Regions from separate parts of the Homo sapiens genome. Here all the other regions are linked to region 1. Evidence: promoter capture Hi-C in 16 types of primary human blood cells and fetal thymus (Javierre and others, 2016). All regions are on one chromosome and are shown on one strand. Each heading gives the region's core, a stretch centred on a gene start or on the middle of the fragment in contact. The rest is flanking DNA. Distances are from core to core; before and after follow the strand shown.

Evidence for each region. The method cuts DNA at HindIII sites, captures the fragments that hold promoters and counts their contacts. A CHiCAGO score of 5 or more calls a contact.
Region 2: a fragment that was not itself captured here is called in contact with the fragment with the promoter of POLR2C in region 1 in 1 of 17 cell types (neutrophils); the score reaches 5.0 in neutrophils.
Region 3: a contact is called between the fragment with the promoter of SPMIP8 here and the fragment with the promoter of POLR2C in region 1, in 8 of 17 cell types (non-activated CD4 T cells, monocytes, total B cells and 5 more). The highest score is 7.3, in non-activated CD4 T cells.
Region 4: the fragment with the promoter of ZNF319 here is called in contact with the fragment with the promoter of POLR2C in region 1 in 2 of 17 cell types (neutrophils and naive CD8 T cells); the score reaches 6.2 in neutrophils.

The regions. Positions count from the first base shown.
Region 1 is chr16:57,461,413-57,464,203 of GRCh38, reverse strand. POLR2C (RNA polymerase II subunit C) reads right to left here and starts at 1,525. Exons shown (of 9, transcript NM_032940.3): 1 at 1,394-1,525; 2 at 1,126-1,175. The coding sequence starts at 1,479. RefSeq lists an enhancer at 1,373-1,667. The HindIII fragment of the contact is 6,497 bases long and covers 1-2,791 here.
Region 2 is chr16:58,122,619-58,125,328 of GRCh38, reverse strand. The region is part of intron 1 of CFAP20 (cilia and flagella associated protein 20); the gene reads left to right. Among named protein-coding and RNA genes, the nearest start is that of CFAP20, 5.4 kb to the left of the region's middle. The HindIII fragment of the contact is 219 bases long and covers 1,284-1,502 here.
Region 3 is chr16:57,975,159-57,977,967 of GRCh38, reverse strand. SPMIP8 (sperm microtubule inner protein 8) reads right to left here and starts at 1,424. Exons shown (of 8, transcript NM_199456.3): 1 at 1,334-1,424; 2 at 1-153. The coding sequence starts at 151. The HindIII fragment of the contact is 9,202 bases long and covers 1-2,809 here.
Region 4 is chr16:57,999,418-58,002,117 of GRCh38, reverse strand. ZNF319 (zinc finger protein 319) reads left to right here and starts at 1,446. Exons shown (of 2, transcript NM_020807.3): 1 at 1,446-2,625. It overlaps USB1 (U6 snRNA biogenesis phosphodiesterase 1), which reads right to left and starts at 711. Exons shown (of 7, transcript NM_024598.4): 1 at 537-711. The coding sequence starts at 634. RefSeq lists enhancers at 473-572, 599-893, 1,066-1,235, 2,093-2,362 and silencers at 653-902, 1,193-1,792, 1,843-1,972. The HindIII fragment of the contact is 9,268 bases long and covers 1-2,700 here.

The DNA of each region.
Region 1 (2,791 bases), core at 276-2,775:
AGCCATCTACCAGCACTGAGCACTCACTAAACACAAAGCACTTATATGGATTACCTCACTTAATCCTTAACATTACCCTGATAAGGATCATTAGTGGCCGAATGTTACAGATGAGGAAACTGCAGCACACAGAAGTTTAATAACTTGCCCAAGTTTCACAAAAGCAGTAAGTGATGCAGCCATAAGAACGAACGAAATCATGTCCTCTGCAGCAACATGGACGTGGCTGGAAGCCACTATCTTCTTTTTTATTTTCTTTTGTTTGAGAAGGAGTCTCACTCTATTGCCCAGGCCAGAGTGCAGTGGCATGATCTCGGCTCACTGCAACCTCCACCTTCTGGGTTCAATCAATTCTGCCTCAGCCTCCCCAGTAGCTGGGATTACAGGTGGGAGCCACCACACCTGGCTAATTTTTGCATTTTTAGTAGAGGCGGGCTTTCCCCATGTTGGCCAGGCTGGTCTCAAACTCCTGGCCTCAGGTGTTCCTCAGTCTTGGCCTCCCAAAGTGCTGGAATTACAGGCGCGAGCGCGGCCTGGAAGCCATTATCCTAAGAGAATTAACACAGGAACAGAAAACCAAACACCGCATGGGAGCTAAAACTGGGTACGCACGGACATAAAGATGACAATAAACACACTGGTGACTACTAGAGCTGGAAGGGAGGCAGTGGGGCTAGGGGTGAAAAACTACCTATTGCGTACTATGCTCACTACCTGGGTGAAAGGATCATTTATACCCCAAATCTCAGCATCACGCACTATACCCAGGCAACAAACCTGCACCAATGTACCCCTTGACTCCAAAATAAAAGTTGAAAACATTTTAAAAACTTTTGTAACAATAGTAGTGAAAACAGTATTTGAACCCAAGTCTGCACACTGCTAAACCCATGCTTCTCAGCAATGCATACCCAGGACAAGGGTGGACCTAAGTGGCCCGTGGGCGCCAGGGAGGCGGCCACTGAGCCAAGGGCACAGGGTATGGTCAAGTCTCCAGCAATGCACTTTTCTCAGCACTACCACCCTCAGCCCGAACCAAGGACTGGAAGGAGCCCCAAAGAGTGTGTGGGTGGAGAGCGGGGCAGGAACCCGTGGGCGCGGGAACGAGGAAGGGGAGTCGCTTACCTATTATGGGAACCTCAGCGATGAAGACCCTCCGAATCGAATTGGCCACCCTGAAAGATCAAAAGCCAAGGGGCGTGAAGGCGCTGCAGCCTCGACAGGCTGGGCCCGCGCCGCAGGCTCCCAAAGCTAAAGCCCTGGTGCAGGGGGGCAGCTCTGGAAGGACATCGCCCCCACCCCACCCCACTACACCCCCGCCCCCTGCCCCGGGGCCCCGGCTTGGGCCTCCCGGCGCCCCAGAGCCGCCAGCCTCTTCCCTCGGTAGCCTTACGCCAGGTCGGTGTTCTCGATGATGAACTTGACATTCTCGTCAGTGAGCTCCGTGATCCGCACGGTAGGCTGGTTGGCGTACGGCATCTCGCCCAGGGGCCACCAGCCTCCGCGTCTGCTCCGCGGTGACTGCGCGGCGCCACCGCCAACACCGGAAGTCAGTCAGCGAGGCCTCCGCGGCTTCCGCAAAGACGACTCACAGCGCCGCCTGCTGCTCGGAGGCCAGAACTGCCGAGCGTCTTCTGCGGCCTCCTGCTTTAAAATGTACCAGATTCAGCTATCTCGGAGGGTAGTTTGGCAAAACACGCATACGTCCTTCACTTAACAGTAACACTTCTAAGAATTCATACTGCAGAAACACTTGCAGTTGTAAACAAAGATACGAGTGCAGGGACGTTCGTGGTAGTACTGTTTGTACTGTCCATTGATAAGAGACCTGGTGGAGTATACACACATGGAATACTATGAAGCACTTAAAAAGAACTTGTACATCTATAGAAAAACAAAAGTATATTTTAATATGAATGTATATTTTAGCAAAGTATACCTGAATTATAAGTAAATACCCTTTCCCTTGCAGTCTCAAGTATGGACCATGCACTTCTGAAAACTTCAGGAAAAGATACAATGTTCTTTAACCTAATGCTTCCTCTACAGTCTGTGTAGCTGTGGTGGGTGAGTGGGAACTCTTTGTCTCTGCATCCCCAGTGCCTGGCAGTGGGCACCATGTGGGGTGCATGCTCAACAAAGAACTACTGAAGTCCCCTAAACAGACTGGAGAGAGGTTTAAATGGGCCTCAAAAAAAGTGGCTGCTGCTCCAACAGAGAAAAGCTCTAAAATAGAACGTGGCAGGAAATACATTTAAGAGTTGGGAGAAGAGTAACCAGATAAAGAGGAGTTTGCCTTTGCAAAGAGTGACACCTCTTCCTGAAACAGAGGGTGGGCACTGATGGAACCCTGCTCCATAACCTGTGTCATCTTGGTAAATTAAGAATTATGGTTGTCTGCTGAGTGTAAGATGGATGCTATGAAGGAAAAAGGAGAATGCAATGAAAACTGGAACAGCTACTGCGAAAACTTCACAGGATGTCAAGAGATACAAGGAATTGAGAGGTGCAAAAAAGATCCAGTGGAAGACCCACAAGAGATCTGAAATTCAATTAGTTGCTGACTTTCCCCCATTAATATTCAGCTGACAGGCAGAAGAGAGCAAAGCAGAAAACAGAGCTAACCAGACGTGCAAAGGGAACCCAGCCAGTGTAGAGGCTGAGAAAATTACTGGGGCTAAAGAATGTACCACTAAAATCGTCAGACAAGAGCAGCCAAGGGAGCTGATGGTCTGTGGGAAGGCTTCTGTTACCCGTATTTTACTGATGGGAAGACTTGAGCCCAGAGACG
Region 2 (2,710 bases), core at 144-2,643, 660 kb before region 1:
TCCTTCAGGAGATATTTCAGAAGAAGGCAGTGTTGTCATAGGAGATGACAGCGCCATGTGCGTTATTGCTCTTGCAGACCTTCCAGTGGGACAGCATGTGGAGGTGGAGACTGTGATTGATGTTAATGATCCTGACCCTGTGCGGGCCTGGGCTCATGTGTGTGTTTGTGTCTTAGTTTTTAACAAAAAAGTTTAAAAAGTTAAAAAAAGAAATAGGAAAAACCTTATGGAATAAAGATATATAGAAAGAAAATATTTTTGTGCAGTTGAACATTGTGTTTTAAGCTAAGTGTTATTACAAAATAGTCTAAAAGTTTTTAAAATTTTTAAAGTTTATAAAGTAAAAAAGTTCCAGTAAGCCAAGGTTAATTTATTATTGATGAAAGAAAAATATTTTTAATAAATTTAGTGTAGTCTGGCCAGGCACAGTGGCTCATGCCTGTAATCCCAGCACTAACTAAATAACTAAAGCACAGTGGCTCATGCCTGTAATCCCAGCACTAACTAAATAACTAAATAAAATAAATGTATTGTAGCATAAGTGTATTGTGTTTACAAAGTGTTCAGTAATGTCCTAGGCCTTCACATTCACTCACCACTCACTCACTGACTCAACCCAGAGCAACTTCCAGTCCTGCATGCTCCACTCATGGCCAGTGCCCTATCCAGTTGTGTCACTTTTTATCGTTTATACAGTACTGTACCTTTTCTATGTTTAGACACACAAATACGTACCATTATGTTACAGTTGCCTACAGTATTCAGTACAGTAGTATGCTGTACAGATTGTAGCCTAGGGGCAATAGGCTATACCATATGGCCCGGGTGTGTAGGATGTTGTACTGTCTAAGTCTGTGTAAGTACACTCTGATATTCACACAGCCATGGAACTGCCTAATGAGGCATTTCTCAGAACGTAATCCCATCCTTAAGCAATGCATGACTGTAGTTAGTACTTTATAAGTAATGACATACAGAATTAAATATGGCAGGGACTGAGGAATTTGCTCAAAACTAAAATAAGATGTTTGAACTTAGCCCACCATCCAGATTTCTAGGAATAGGAAGTACTGTAAAACCAGACTCCTGAAATGAGAAGAATTTAGTTGTTGCACCGTGGCTCGCCCAGCCCTAAGCCCTTAATGTGGCTCTAAGGCCACATAACCCATGCTCTGGCACCTGCTTCACTTGTTCTCCAGGCGGGACTCACTTCACCCGGTTCCCCCTCTTAGTAGTAGCCTCCTACTGAATTGAAGGAAGTCCTGTTCTCTCACCTTCAAGCTTTTGCACTTCCTGGTCCTTCTGCTGGGCGCTGCCCCTCACCACCCCACAAGCCTCACTCCCATCTTTTCATTAGGCTCCAGTCACAGTTCAAAGGCCTTTCTCAGAGTGACCTTCCTTAACTCTTCAGGGTAAGTTAATTTACTTCTTTCTTATCACACTTGACATTATTAGCTTCTTAAGGTCTGTATTCCTGGCTATACAGTTTCCTGATAGAAGCTTTTGTAAGTTTCTAAACCAACAGCTTAGAAGAAATTAGGGGTTTCTTTAATGTTACCTTGACATCTGGGACCAGCAAATCTTATATTTATTAAAAGACTCTTACGTTTAATGTAAACATTACTTCTGGTTGTAAGGAAAATACCAGGAGGTTCTGTTCCCACTTATACTTGTGTAAAACATGCTGTAATTTTCAGTCTTTTTTTTTTTTTTTTTTTTTTTTTTTTTTTTTTGAGACAGAGTCTTGCTCTGTCCCCCAGGCTGGAGTGCAGTGGCACGATCTCGGCTCACTGCAGGCTCCACCACCTGGGTTCACGCCATTCTCCTGCCTCAGCCTCCGGAGTAGCTGGGACTACAGGCGCCCGCCACCACGCCCAGCTAATTTTTTGCATTTTTAGTAAAGATAGGTTTTCACCGTGTTAGCCAGGATGGTCTCGATCTCCTGACCTCGTGATCCGCCTGCCTTGGCCTCCCAAAGTGTTGGGATTACAGGCGTGAGCCACTGCGCCCAGCCAATTTTCGGTCTTAATGGTAGTAATCCTGGCTGGGCGCAGTGGCTCACGCCTGTAATCCTAGCACTTTGGGAGGCCAAGGCGAGCTGAGGTCAGGAGTTCAAGACCAGCCTGACCAACATGAAGAAATCCCGTCTCTACTAAAAATACAAAAGTTAGCCGGGCATGGTGGCACATGCCTGTAATCCCAGCTACTCGGGAGGCTGAGGCAGGAGAATCACTTGAACCCGGGAGGTGGAGGTTGCGGTGAGCCGAGATGGTGCCATTGCACTCCAGCCTGGGCAACAAAAGCAAAACTTTGTCTCAAAAAAAACAAGATAGTATCCTAAAAGTACATGAGATGAGATTGCATTAATTCATGAAAACGCCTTTGTCTGTCTTTCCTGTCACCCTGTCTTTCTCTCAGCTGCTGCTGTTTCTCCCCTACTCCAAGACTAAATATTAGACCAGAGTCTTCTGCTGTTGCTGGATAGTGTTAGATTCCCATGTCCTGTTCTAATTTTAAAAATAAAGTCTCTCTTCAGAAAAAATTTCCTACATTCTAGTTTTTAGTTAGCATGCCTTGTTGATAAAAATTAAATTGGTGCTGTTTTCAGTAGTAGAATTGAGTGTATTTGGACATAAAGGTGGTAAAACTTTTTTTCTGACTTGGAGAATGTTCTTCATTATTCTGAGTCAGGTTTTACTGTAATTGAACG
Region 3 (2,809 bases), core at 175-2,674, 510 kb before region 1:
GGCGCAGGGTGGGCAGGGCTGGGTGGTAGAGCTGCTGCTTCACGCCCGCCAGCTGGTTGCGCTGCCGCTCCATGGGAAGCAGGATGGCCGGGGAGGCATACACATGTGTGGAGCCATCGTCCCAGGGCACCAGGTCAATGATGCGGGCCATAGCTGGGGGGCAGAGGGTTCTAAGGGGCTCACCCTGGGCTCATGCTGGCCAGACACCCTTCTCTGCATGAAAACAACCTTGGCCAGTGCCGATGTCTACTTGCCAAACATTTATTTAGCACCTACTGTGTGCCAGGCCATTTTTCTGGAGCTCAGCATGAGGTGGCAGGAACATTCAGATAACAGAAGATAACAGAGACAACCCTCCCACTCCCCTTCCAACACACACATACACACACACACACACACACACACACTCACATTGTGCCATGGCTGTGAGGGAGGTCAGTACAGAGTGTGTGTTTCTGGGGAGGCTGGGGTTAGGACATTCAAGGAATGGTCTAAAAGAGGTGGTATTTGAGTCTATTCGTTTTTTTTTCTTTCTTTCTTTTCTTTTTTTTTTTTTTTTTGAGACAGTCTCACTCTTCTGCTCAGACTGAAGTACAGTGGCGCCATCTTGGCTCAATGCAACCTCTGTCTCCTGGGTTCAAGTGATTCTCCTGCCTCAGCCTCCTGAGGAACTGGGATTATAGGCATCCACCACCACATGTGACTAGTTTTTGTATTTTTAGTAGAGACGGGGTTTCACTGTGTTGGCCAGGCTGGTCTCGAACTCCTGACCTCAAGTGATCCACCCGCCTCAGCCTCTCAAAGTGCTGGGATTACAGGTGTGAGCCACCTTGCCTGGCGAGTCTATTCTTAAATAATAAGCAGGAAAGTGCAGCAGCAAGCGGGTTCAGAATGTAGCTTAGTATGCCGTATACCTCTGGGTGAATAATTATGGACTTGCCCTAGCTATTTACCCAAAATTCTACAGATTGACTCAGAAAGATTTTCAGGAAGGGGAGCAACATGATATATTTAAACTAGAAAAGCATTACTGGATACCCAGTGCCTCCCTTTAAAAAGCAGATAGTCCCAGGAGCCTTTCAGTCATTTACACTTTAGTGAGAATTTGTTGAGACAGCTTGCTTTCTTCCTGACCCTGAGTTAGAGGTGAGAGGTGGAGGTGGAAGCTAGGGTGGCAGGAGGAGAGAGGACCTTAGATCATGGAGGAGCAGGGAGGGGGCATGGTGACAAGGCATGGGGAAGCTGCCTTAGGGGATGTGACTGCCTGGGGAGGGACAGGGAGGGGGATCACGGATATGGGGAAGAGAGCAAGGGCTCCCTGCTTCTGACTCACCAATAGCAGCTACCTTATCTGTAGGGCCCAGGCCCAGGTGCACAGGCTTATAAGGACTTTCAGTTCTTTGACTGCTCAATGGGCAGAAGAGGAAGGGAGGTGGACGAGCCCTTATTATGGACAGCAGCAGAATAAAGGAACATTGTGCACAGACAATGCCCATTGCAGCCTGATTCTGAGGCACCCACTCCTTAGCAACCCTGGCAACTACAGGCTCTAACAAGAGCCTGTGCCAGAATTCCTGTGCTCTGGCCACTCCCTTCCAGCCTTCCTGAAGGCTGTGGTCTCCCAGGCCTTAGCACAGGCCAGGCATCTTGGGAAATGTCAGATGGGGAGCTGGGGTTCCCTGGAGGTAGTCAGGCCAAGGCAGGCCAGAAATGGCTACTGAGCCCACTGCAGGCTGTGTAATCCTGGGCTAATTACCGCCTCTCTCTGGGACTCAAGGCTCTCCTCTGTGTTAGGCAAGGACTCTAGGATCTGCCGTTAGGAGGATCTGGATGCTGAGAGGGATCTCCCCTCCCTGGAACCCTCAGGGAAGAGGGCACTGCACTGTCTGCCAGCCCTTGAGTCTCCAGGAGTGGAGATTAGCTGTGGCCAGTATCCAGGGTAAGCGTGAGGGGATCAGGGAGAGTGGTGGACTCAGCAGGCCAGGGATTAGCAGATGATACTCCACCCTCAGCCCCTGCAGGACTGCAGGCTCCCAGAAAAGCCAGGCTGTGAGTGCCCAAGGCCAGCACCCCAAAGCCCTGGGGCCTGCCCACCATCCTGGTCACAACCATTAGAGACAGACCCCCAAGGTGAGGAAACCCCAGGAGATCCTAACTTATTTGCATATATTGGCATGTGCTTTTGCATATACCTGCCCAGGGGCTGAACCTGATGGGTCTTGGAGCCCCTCCTGTGAAATTCTTGTAGGATTTGTTTCCCCAGTTGCTCCTCCTCCAGTGCTCCATACAGCTTCCAGAACAGCATTCCTAACTGCTACCCCTTACAAAAAACCTTCCCAGAGTTGACTCCACTCACCACCCCACCCCCAATTTATTTCTTGACTCTTTTAAAGTTATAAAATAGAAGAAATACAGAAAGTGAATAAATATCTAATGTAACTAATAATTTACAAAATGAGACCCCGTATAACTACCACCCACCCTGGTCAAGACATGGAGTACTACTTTTAAAACAGTTTATCAGTTTCTTAAAAAATGAAACAGAAATGTACCATATGATTGGGTCATCTGGAAGATTCTACCCCAGGAGGCTTCCCAAGAGAAATGAAAGTATATTGTGAGGCACGATGGCTCACACCTGTAATCCCAGCACTTTGGGAGGCTGAGGTGAGCAGATCACTTGAGGTTGGGAGTTTGAGACCAGCCTGGCCAACATGGTGAAAACCTGTCTCTACTGAAAACACAAAAATTAGCTGGGCGTGGTGGTGCAAGCCTGTAATCCCAGCTACTCAGGACGCTGAGGCAGGAG
Region 4 (2,700 bases), core at 197-2,696, 540 kb before region 1:
TGATAGAGCAATTGTGGGATCAACTGAGCTACTGCTTGTAAAGCACTCAGCAAAGATAAGGCCTAGCATTTAAGAATCTAAGCCCCAGGAAGTAAGGCCGACGGTTTTGTTCACCACTGAATTACCAGACCCCAGCCTGGCAGGGAGTGGGTGCTCAGTGAATATTTACTGGATGAATGAAAAGGCTCTCCCTACGCTTTAGCAAGTATTACTATCGCAATTGTATTCAAATCAGGAAACGGACCTAGGATGGTACAGGGATGTGTGCCAGGCGATAGAGTGGGCCAGCGCGAGGCTGGACCCGAACCCAGGTCTGGCCTCCCAACTTGGCCCTAGCCAGGTGGGGCCACTCTGGAGCTTTGTCTGGGGTGGGGGGGAGGGGTATATCTTCTGGATCCTCCTTTCTTCCTGCGTCCCCTTTTCCTTCCCAGAGCCGCCCCGCATCCTCCCTCCCCACTCCACCCCCAGACATTCGGGTCCCGTCTGGCTCTAGGGTGAATGCGCGCGCCCTCCGGAGAGACTTCCTCACTCCTCACCGACGGTGGCTCCCATCCCCCGGCCTGGTCCGCATCCCGTCCTCGGACTCATCCTCGGAGCCGCTGCTGCTGTAGCCCACCAGGGGCGCCGCGCTCATGGGGCCTCATCCAAGACCACCAGAGCAGGTCCACCAGCAACCTCAACCGGCACCCGGAGTTCCGCTGTGCCGGAAGCGCCCTCCCAGGGGCGGGGCCTGGGCTGGCACCGCCTCGGGGCGGAGCCGGGAGGGGCGGAACCCGGCAGGACAGTGGTGAAGATTCAGCCCACCGACTCCAAGCTGTCTGCCGGCTGCGCACGCGGATCTGGTCACCTGCAGCCTCCCGGCACCCCGCTGGGACCTCCCCAGCCTTCGTGTACCCATTTCATATATCGCTCAGGGCCCTCACCTTTCTGCCCGCTGCTGTCTGCAGCCACCCGGGACCAGACATACCAGACACGACAGTCCCGGGTCAGCGCACTAGACCCAGCGGAGACCCCTGCCTGCCCCGAGCCCGGCCAGGATCAGAGGTCCTGGAGCCCCCTCCTCAAACCAGCCCAAAGTCCAAGCCCCTAAAAGCCAAGCTGAGCAGTTAGGGGCGGATCAATTGTGGCAGACCAGAGCCTCTAGGAGGCCCCTCCTCTCCTGCGCAGAGCCGGGCCGAGGGCGGTCACCCGGAGCCCCCTCCCCTAAGCCCGAGCGGGGTGGCCGGAAGCAGAGCGCCCTTCCTCGGTTAGTCGAGGCGCCCAGGCCTGGCGACTCGAAAACCGCCCGGAGCACCCGGCTTGTCCGACCTGGCCCGGCCACGGGGTCCCCGGCAGGGGGCGGCCTCGCTCCGCGCCGCCCGCTCCTCCCGCATTGGCCGCCGCCGCCCGGGATGCCGCTCCTCCCCCGGCCCCGCCTCCCTGGCCCCCGCGCCGCCCGCCCGTCCGCCCGTCTCCGCAAGGCCATCGGTCCGTCCGCCCGCCCTCCCGGCGCTCCTCGCCCCGGCCCCGCTACTCCGGCAGCGCGCGTCGCTTCCTCCGTTCCGGCCGCCGCTAGCCCGTCCCCCGCCCCCGGTCCGGCCGCAGCCGCTACGCGAGGCCGGGGATTGGCAGCGCGCGTAGGCCGCGCCGCCGCGGATGGAGCCGGAATAAAGGGGCGGCCGAGAGAGCAGCTGGTCGCCGCTCGCCCCGCGCCTGCCCTGCAGGCGGCCTGGAGCAGGTGAGCGGCGGGGCGCCCGGGGCCGCATCTGGGGGCCACCCCCGCGCCCGCCGCACCCCTTCCTCTGCCGGCCCGGCCGCCCCCCCGCGCCCCTCCGCCGCGACCTAGCGGCCTCTTGAGCTTCTGGGCGGCCCAGGCCGGGCCTCGAGGCGCAGCCGCTTCCTGGGCCCGGCCTGTAGCCCTGGGGCCTTTCTCCAGCCCGGCCGCCCTCGGGGCTCGCCCTCGGGTCGCAGCGGCCGGGCCATCCCGGACGAGGGCTGACAGGACGCAGCCCAGCTGGGCCTGCAGGCAGGGCCGGCGGGAGGTGATCGGCTTTCATTCGGTTTCTCAGGGAGGAAGAAGAGACGGGGTGGGGCGCAGGTGGGGGGCCTCCCCTGCCTCTCCTTGCCTCCTCTCTCCCCTTTGCGGAGTGATCACAGAGGCTTCCTGGCTGCACCTTGCTGCAGGAGGGCCAGGGTGGGCAGGGGGTGCTGCAGACCAAGCCAGGGGACACTGTCTGACAGCCATTCATGCCAGAAAAAGCAAACAAAACAGTGGGTTGGCACAGCGGACCTACAGGCGCTCAGAGAAGCCCACCTTCCCCCTCTCTGTCCCGAGAAGGCTTAGAGTGGTACCTGCTTGCTCAAGCAACCTGCTGCCTCCACCCAGAGCAGCCGCTCCTCTCCTCCCTCCCTTCCGGAAGATGCTGAGGATGACAGCTTTTAGCCTGACTCTTACATTTCTTTGGCAGAGCAGTTAGAGGCCAGACTGTCCTGTGAAGGCTTCTCCTTCCTTCTTCCTCTGCTCAGGAGAAAACTTACAAACTTTTAAATGTAAGAGGCAGATGAGCTGGGAACCTGGAAGTGGGTTGCATCTGACTCTGAAAGTTCCTCCCTCTCGCTGGCATTACCTCATGCTGCCACAAAGTGGTGAGTTAGAGATTTGCCTGGGCTGGGTGGGCTTTACCTTCCAACAATTACCCAGAACTTTATAGGCTTGGAGTA